3 separate regions of the Homo sapiens genome follow, and all the other regions are linked to region 2. Evidence: promoter capture Hi-C in human tissues and cell types (Jung and others, 2019). All regions are on one chromosome and are shown on one strand. Each heading gives the region's core, a stretch centred on a gene start or on the middle of the fragment in contact. The rest is flanking DNA. Distances are from core to core; before and after follow the strand shown. Region 1 holds the start of TSKS (testis specific serine kinase substrate). Region 2 holds the start of RCN3 (reticulocalbin 3). Region 3 overlaps TSKS (testis specific serine kinase substrate).

The links. Contacts are between HindIII fragments. The study calls those that stand out against the background at their distance.
Region 1: a contact is called between the fragment with the promoter of TSKS here and the fragment with the promoter of RCN3 in region 2, in 2 of the 25 tissues and cell types used here (dorsolateral prefrontal cortex and small bowel).
Region 3: a contact is called between a fragment that was not itself captured here and the fragment with the promoter of RCN3 in region 2, in 1 of the 25 tissues and cell types used here (dorsolateral prefrontal cortex).

Annotation. Positions count from the first base shown.
Region 1 is chr19:49,762,056-49,764,755 of GRCh38, reverse strand. It overlaps TSKS (testis specific serine kinase substrate), which reads left to right and starts at 1,450. Exons shown (of 11, transcript NM_021733.2): 1 at 1,450-1,678; 2 at 2,524-2,700. The coding sequence starts at 1,509. It also overlaps the pseudogene RNU6-841P. RefSeq lists an enhancer at 2,697-2,700. The HindIII fragment of the contact is 39,317 bases long and covers 1-2,700 here.
Region 2 is chr19:49,526,751-49,529,450 of GRCh38, reverse strand. It overlaps RCN3 (reticulocalbin 3), which reads right to left and starts at 1,448. Exons shown (of 7, transcript NM_020650.3): 1 at 1,393-1,448; 2 at 737-984. The coding sequence starts at 978. RefSeq lists a silencer at 1,371-1,490 and an enhancer at 954-1,532. The HindIII fragment of the contact is 21,368 bases long and covers 1-2,700 here.
Region 3 is chr19:49,744,663-49,747,362 of GRCh38, reverse strand. TSKS (testis specific serine kinase substrate) reads left to right here. Exons shown (of 11, transcript NM_021733.2): 6 at 565-893; 7 at 1,967-2,161. Among named protein-coding and RNA genes, the nearest start is that of TSKS, 17 kb to the left of the region's middle. RefSeq lists enhancers at 156-675, 676-1,195. The HindIII fragment of the contact is 5,825 bases long and covers 1-2,700 here.

The DNA.
Region 1 (2,700 bases), core at 201-2,700, 240 kb before region 2:
CAGGAAGAAGTACTTTCTCCCTGGGGATAACAGCATTTAAAATGTCTATTAGCAGTGATGTTTGAACTAGTCTTTTTGAGAAGTGTGAAGAGAACAGGAAAAGTCTGTCCCTAAATAGCAGGGCAGTGCTCGCTTCGACAGCACATGTATTAACATTGGAACGATACAGAGAAGATTAGCATGGGCCCTGCGCAAAGACCACATGCAAATTTGTGACATGTTCCATATATTTTTTAAATACTTTGGGCGGGCGGGGCGCAGTGGCTCACACCTGTAATTCCAATGCTTTGGGAGGCTGAAGTGGGCAGATCACGAGGTCAGGAGTTGGAGACTAGCCTAGCCAACACAGTGAAACCCTGTCTCTACTAAAAATACAAAAAAAAAATTAGATGGGTGTGGTGGCAGGTACCTGTAGTCCCAGCTACTCAGGAGGCTGAGGCAGGAGAATCGCTTGAAACTGGGAGGTAGAGGTTGCAATGAGCCAAGATCACGCCACTGCACTCCAGCCTGGGTGTCAGAGCGAGACTCCATCTAAAAAAAAAAAAAAAAAATTATAGCGGAGCATGGTGGCTCATGTCTGTAATCCCACACTTTGGGAGGCTAAGGCGGGTGGACCATTTGAGGTCGGGAGTTTGAGACCAACTTGGCCAACATGGTGAAACCCGTCTCTACTAAAAATACAAAAATTAGCCGGACATTGTGGCCAGCGCCTGTAGTCCCAGCTACTGGGGAGGCTGAGGCAGGAGAATCGGTTGAACCCCGGGAGGTGGAGGTTGCAATGAGCTGAGATCGCGCCACTGAACTCCAGCCTCCATGACAGAGAGAGACTCTGTCTCAAAAAAAATAAAAAGTATTAAAGAAAATAATAAATAAATAAACGGGGGAGGGGGATACCACCCTCTGTCCTGCCCCAACTCTCTACCTTCCTCTCCTCCCTCACCTTCTACCCTGACCCCGAGGCCCACCGCACCTAGCTTTCTTTTGTTGATCTACCTGTATATTGCCTTTCCCCCGACCCCGACGCCCCATAGAATATGAGACCCTCCAGGTCAGGGTCTGGATCTCAGCCCTCTTCGACCACAGTCTCTCAAACCCCAGCCAATTGTCAAATCCAGGAAGCTACATGAAGAATCAAGAACAAGTGCACAGGGCTGTGTGACCCCACGCTTAGTCTCAGGGAGAGGGAAGTTGGACCTCTCCCAAGAATCCGTGGGCCGACCCATTGTTAAGTTACAGGCTAGCATGAATCCATCCACTGGAGCTCTGAAGACGGGGGGCACATTGGGCATGTAACTAGAATCCTGAACAGGAGGAGTCCACTGAGAACCCTAGGGGAATGACCTGGGCCAGCATCTCTCCCTACCCTGTGCCCCCCACTCACTGGGGCCCAGTGGTTGGGTCCTTTGTGAGGCAGGCTGAGGGGACAGTGGATCCTGAGGGTCTGTGGTCACAGTAGGTAGGAAGTCTCAGAGGAAGGAGCCCCTCCCTGGGAGCCAGACCCCCACACCATGGCGAGCGTGGTGGTGAAGACGATCTGGCAGTCCAAAGAGATCCATGAGGCCGGGGACACCCCCACGGGGGTGGAGAGCTGCTCCCAGCTAGTCCCAGAGGCTCCCCGGAGGGTGACCAGCCGGGCCAAGGGGATCCCGAAGAAAAAGAAGGCCGTGTCGTTCCACGGGTGGGTTTGTTGCACACTGTCAGGGATGGTTCTAATGCCCAGCACTACCTCCAACAGAGCAGGAGTCCGACTGTGGGTGCTAGAGGAAGGGGAGGGGGAAAAGCCAGCAGGTCGGGGGCAGGAAAGAGGGCAGCAGTGAAGAGACATCAAGTCACAGGGAGGTAGAGAGGAAGAAGGTAATGGGGATGGATGGAGGGAGGAAGAAGGTAATGGGGATGGATGGAGAGAGGAAAAAGCCAGTGGGGAGGGAAGAAGGAGAAGGGAGGCTAGTGAATGAAGAAGAAAGTAGGTGGCAGAGAAGGGAGGAGAAAGTAGGCAGCGGGGAAGGAGAAGAAGAAAGTAGACAGTGGTGGTCGGGCACGGTGGCTCACGCCTGTAATCCCAGCACTTTGGGAGGCCGAGGCAGGTGGATCATGAGGTCAGGAGTTCAAAACCAGCTTGGCCAACATGGTGAAAAGCCATCTCTACTAAAAATACTAAAATTAGCTGGGCGTGATGGCACATGCCTATAACCCCAGCTACTCAGGAGGCTGAGGCAGGAGAATTGCTTGAACTGGGACCCGCAGTCGGAGGTTGCAGTGAGCTGAGATCGCGCCACTGCACTCCAGCCTGGGCAACAGAGTGAGACTCTGTCTCAAAAAAAAAAAAAAAAGAAAGAAAGAAAAAAGAAAGAAAGTAGGCAGCACAGGGAAGGAGAATAAAGTAGGCAGCGGGGACAGAGAAGGGAGAAACTTATATACAGTGAGGGTGGAGTCACAGGGGGTGAGGTATGGAGAAAGGAAGGCAGGAGGGCCCAGACACCCTGGGGCTGCTTCTCCACTTTTCTGCCTGTTTCTTCTCTGCAGGGTGGAGCCCCAGATGTCCCATCAGCCCATGCACTGGTGCCTGAACCTCAAACGGTCCTCGGCCTGCACCAACGTGTCACTGCTCAACCTGGCCGCCATGGAGCCCACTGACTCCACGGGGACAGACTCCACAGTGGAAGACCTCAGCGGCCAACTCACACTGGCTGGGCCCCCTGC
Region 2 (2,700 bases), core at 199-2,698:
GCTCAGGCCTGGACGGAGAGGGTGGACAGGGCTCCATTCCACCCAGCTCACCCTGAAACTCAGGGCTCTGCCACTCTCCTGCACTGGCCGGGCTCCTTAAAGGCCAAACCTCATTTTCCACACCAGTCCCTGCCATTTACAGAGCAGGAAACTGAGGCTTGGGGAGGGGAGATGTCTGGGACAAAAGAATAAGGAGCGCTTAGGGGGCAGAATCTAACCCAGATTTTGCTGCCCTCAAAGGTCCTCTTTTTTATTGTTGTTGTTGTTTTTTAGACGGAGTCTCACTTTGTCGCCCTGACTGGAGGGCAGTGGTGCAATTTTGGCTCACTGCAACCTCCACCTCCCAGGTTCAAGCGATTCTCCTGCCTCAGCCTCCCGAGTAGCTGGGATTACAGGTGCCCACCACCACGCCTGCCTAATTTTGTATTTTTAGTAGAGACGGGATTTCACCATGTTGGCCAGGCTGTTCTCGAACTCCTGACCTCAAGTGATCGGCCTGCCTTGGCCTCCCAAAGTGCTGGGATTACAGGCATGAGCCACCACGCCCGGTCTCAAAGGTCCTCTTTAGGCCTCAATTTTAACTTAATTTCTTTTTCCCAAGGATAGAAGGTAGAATTTCATTTCTCACAAAGAAATGAAGTTCAGTCCACGCCATTTCTCTGACCCCTGTCGATACCCCCGCGTCTCTCTCCTAAGCCCCACCTCTGGACACGCCCCAACCGAATGTCTCTCTTACCCCAGACGGGCCTGGCTTTCCTCTGGGGTGAGTTGGTCGAATTCCTTGGCCACTTCCCGTCCCAGGAAAGCCTCATGGTCGTACTGGAAGTTCCCGTGGGCGTCATCATGGGGAGCGTCGCTCAGGGGGGCCGCCTGGTGCACCCTCCCCTGGCCATGAGGGCCTGCGTCTGGGGATGGCTTCCCCTGGGCCCCGTGCCTCAGTAGCAACAGAAGCAGCAGAACTGATGGTCGCCACATCATCGGTCCCTGGGGAGTGGCAAAGGCCAGGGGTCAGGGGTCACAGGGATGGGGACAGACACGGGATAGGAGAATGGCGGGGTGGAGGGGTTACCTAGGACAGGACAGGGAGTTGGAAGTTGGCTGCAAGCTTTCGGGCTCAAAAAGGGCGGGCGATGGGGGAAAAGAGGGCGGGATGCTTAGAGGTAAAGCCACCTATGGGGAGGACCGAATCTTCTGACGGAGTCTCAGGGGGGTCCCAGACCTGCCAGGGGGAATTACAGAGACAGACGTGGCGCACATCCCACGCAAGGTGCAGGGCATAGTTGTGGCCAGCGAGAGGTCAGGCAGGCTCCCCGTCATTGCTCCCAGTCCGGACCCTGGTCCTCGACCCGAGCCGCCCTCCCTGGACAGAGGCCCCCCACCCACTCCCTTTACCCTGTTATCCAGCTTCGCTCCGCTCTCCACGCTCCGCTCTGCGTTCCCGCAAATGTGCCCAATTCGGCCGCTCTCCAGTCAGGCCCCGCCTCTGGCAGCGCAGAGCCCCGCCCCCCGCCCAATGAGCTCGCACGAGCGTCTCACGGGGCGGGGCCAATGAGTGCACGGGGTGCCGCGGGCACTCCTCGCCACGTCCACAAAGGAAACCGCGGCCTGCCCGGGGAAGAAGGGTGGGCGACACCGCAGTGACGCGGCCGGGGAGAACTACAACTCCTGGCAGTCGTCGCGGCACTCTGCCGTCCACCTCCAGCTGTTCTAGTCACAACGCCTCACGGGAAATGTATTTTTCCCTTTCCCTTTGTCAGGATGGTTTAAGAAAGAGGTGTACGTTCCAACACTTCTATACCAAACAAAACAAAACAAAACAAAAATAAACAAAAAGAACGAAAGAAAAGAAAAAAGGCCGGGCGCGGTGGCTCACGCCTGTAATCCCAGAACTTTGGGAGGCCGAGGCGGGCGGATCGCCTGAGGTCGGGAGTTCGAGACCAGCCTGATCAACACGGAGAAACCCCATCTCTACTAAACATACAAAATTAGCCGGGTGTGGTGGCGCATGTCTTTAATCCCAGCTACTTTGGGAGGCTGAGGCAGGAGAATTGCTTGAACCTGGGAGGCGGAGGTTGTGGTGAGCCGAGATCGCACCATTGCATTCCAGCCTGGGCAACAAGAGCGAAACTCCGTCTCAAAAAAAAAAAGAAAGAAAAGAAAAGAAAAGAAAAGGGAGAGCAGAATCAAGGGGCCGGAGGAAATATCCCATTTCCTCCAAGAGTGAACACTGCTCCTCGCTCCTCTTCGGCTCCAAGGATTCAGGTGGTCAGACAGTAGCCAAGAATTCCTCAAAATGCCTGGCATGGCAGTCATCCAGTAAATATTTGTAAAAGTTATGAATTAAAAATACATGACCTCAGGTTGAGCACAGTAGCTCAATGCCTGTAATCCCAGAACTTTGGGAAGCTGAGGCAGGTGGATCACCTGAGGTCAGGAGTTCCAGACCAGCCTGACCAACATGGTGAAACCCCGTCTCTACTAAATACAAAAAATTAGCCGGGTGTGGTGGTGCATGCCTGTAATCCCAGCTACTTGGGAGGCAGGAGAATTGCTTGAACCTGGGAGGCGGAGGTTGCAGTGAGCTGAGATCACGCAATTGTACTCCAGTCTGAGCAACAAGAGCAAAACTCTGTCTTAAAAAAAAAAAAAAAAAGTGACCTTAGGCCGGGCGCGGTGGCTCACACTTGTAATCCCACCCCT
Region 3 (2,700 bases), core at 76-2,575, 220 kb before region 2:
TTTGTGGGAGGAGGTCAGATGCACGAGGGACTCAAGATACACTTTTAGGTGGAACTCCCTGCCCCGACACCACCACCACACTGCACCTTCGTGCACATAGTCATCCTTAGAACTCGCTGATAAGAGGGATTCAAATGAGGCTCCAACACCCAGATGGGGGACTCTTGCCCTGCAGTCACATTCAGGTCCCAGAAAGAGAATCGAGCTGGACTTCAGGTGAGAAGGCCCGTCCTGTCCACATGCCCACTCATTTTCCAACAAAATGCTGAGAAAGCTTCAGTTGTTCTTGCCAAGTGGCCGGGACTGGTATTTGACGCCTGGAGGGCTTGGAGGGCCGGGTGGATACCTGGAGGCAGGCTGTGGGAGGTTAGCGGGAATTGGAGTCCAACTGGGCCTCAAATGGTGCCTCCCCTCCCTAATGACAGCCAGTGAGACTTCCAACATACTGTCCCCACAGGCGTTCTACTTCCAATCTCGGGGAGTACTGGAGCGGATTTTGGGGTGGAGGTGGTTGCGGGAGGAAAGCGGCTGGACGCTGTGACCCCGTCCTCCCTTACCACCCAGGAGAAGCTGCGCTACCTCCAGCAGCAGCTGCAGGATGAGACGCCGCGACGGCAGGAGGCCGAGCTGCAGGAGCCGGAGGAGAAGCAGGAGCCGGAGGAGAAGCAGGAGCCGGAGGAGAAGCAGAAGCCGGAGGCTGGCCTCTCCTGGAACAGCCTGGGCCCCGCCGCCACGTCCCAGGGCTGCCCCGGCCCGCCAGGGAGTCCCGACAAACCCTCGCGGCCACACGGCCTGGTCCCCGCAGGCTGGGGAATGGGGCCTCGGGCTGGCGAGGGCCCCTACGTGAGCGAGCAGGAATTGCAGAAGCTGTTCACCGGCATCGAAGAGCTGAGGTGGGCGGGACCTAGGGGCGGAGCCTCGAAAACGAGATCGGCGGGGACTCAGGGGTGGAGCCTCGAGGAGATGCGGTGGGCGGGACCCAAGGGACGGGGGTTCTCAAGTAGCTGAGGTGGGCGGTGACATGGGTGGAGCCTCGGGGACCTGAGGTGGGCGGGAACATGGGAGGAGCCTCGAGGAACGAAGGTGGGTAGAGACACGGGAGGAGTCTCCAGGAGCTGCGGTGGGCGGGGACACAGGGGAGGTTCCTCAAAGATCGTTTTTTGTTTTGTTTTGTTTTTTTTGAGGCGGAGTCTCGCTTGTCGCCCAGGCTGGAGTGCAGTGGCGCCGTCTTGGCTCACTGCAAGCTCCGCCTCCCGGGTTCACGCCATTCTCCTGCTTCAGCCTCCCCAATAGCTGGGACTACAGGCGCCCGCCACCACGCCTGGCTATTTTTTTGTATTTTTAGTAGAGACGGGGTTTCACCGTGTTAGCCAGGATGGCCTCGATCTCCTGGCCTCGTGATCCGCCCGCCTCGGCCTCCCAAAGTGCTAGGATTACAGGCGTGAGCCACCGCGCCCGGCCTAGATCTTAACCGGAAGGCGACAAGGCTGGGGTCTCCAAGAGCAGAGGAGGGAGTGCCCCGAAGGCAGTGACCTGAGCAAGGGAGGGACAGAATAAGGAACTTTTTAGTTCTGGGCTGCTGGGAGGCAGGTCCAGGCCTGGTGAAACTGAGGTGGGCGGGGCTTAGGAGAGGAGTGGTCCTGGAGGCACCACGTGGGGCAGAGTAGGGTGGGCAGTGCCTTGGGGGGCCAGTGTCTGGAGGAGCCCAGGTAGAGGTTGGGGACCTGACCAGGAAAGGGCCAAGATAGCCAATAAAGGAAGGGGATAAAGGCGGGGCTCTGGAGGACACGACCAAATTTCACCAAATGGAGGGTGCAATAAAATTTGGTGACCTGGGTGGGTCTGGAGCCACGGGCATGGTCTCAGTGGGGCGAGATAGGTGAGTCCTGTCCCACCTATCTCGTGGGGGTAGGTGGGGACCTGTTGAAGCCTAGCCCCTACCCATTCCCCTCCTCTGCCCCTCCAGGAGAGAGGTGTCCTCACTGACCGCCCGGTGGCATCAGGAGGAGGGGGCGGTGCAGGAAGCCCTGCGGCTGCTCGGGGGCCTGGGCGGCAGGGTCGACGGCTTCCTAGGCCAGTGGGAGCGGGCACAGCGCGAACAGGCACAGACGGCGCGGGACTTGCAGGAGCTGCGAGGTCGGGCGGATGAGCTGTGCACCATGTGAGGATTGGGGCCAGTGCATGGGAAGACCGGAAGGGGCAGGGCAATCCCAACCTGAGGGCGGGGTCTTGAGGGAAATGGGTAGGCCAATCAGCTATGGCCAGGCATTCCGGAACATATACCGACATCGGGAAACACCAATTAGAGAGCAGGAAGGGTTGCATCAGCCCTAATAAGGCCTGAGGGGTGGAATCAATTAGAGAAGGGGTGTGGTCTATACCTTAAAAGGGCAAAGGGTGGGGTCAAGTGGGATCCGAGAAAATCAATTAAGAGAACTAGGAGGGGCATTCCAAACAGTAATCTACAAAAGGTGGCCCAGTGAGGTGGCTCACATCTATAATCCCAGCACATTGGGAGGCCGACGTGGGCGGATTACTTGAGGCCAGGAGTGCAAGACAAGCCTGGGCCACATAGCGGAGACCCCATCTCTACAAACAATTTAAAAATTAGCTGGGAGTGGTGTGGTGTCGCACCCTGGTAGTCCTAGCCACTCGGGAGGCTGAGGCAGGAGTGATCGCTTGAGCCCAGGAGTTCAAAGC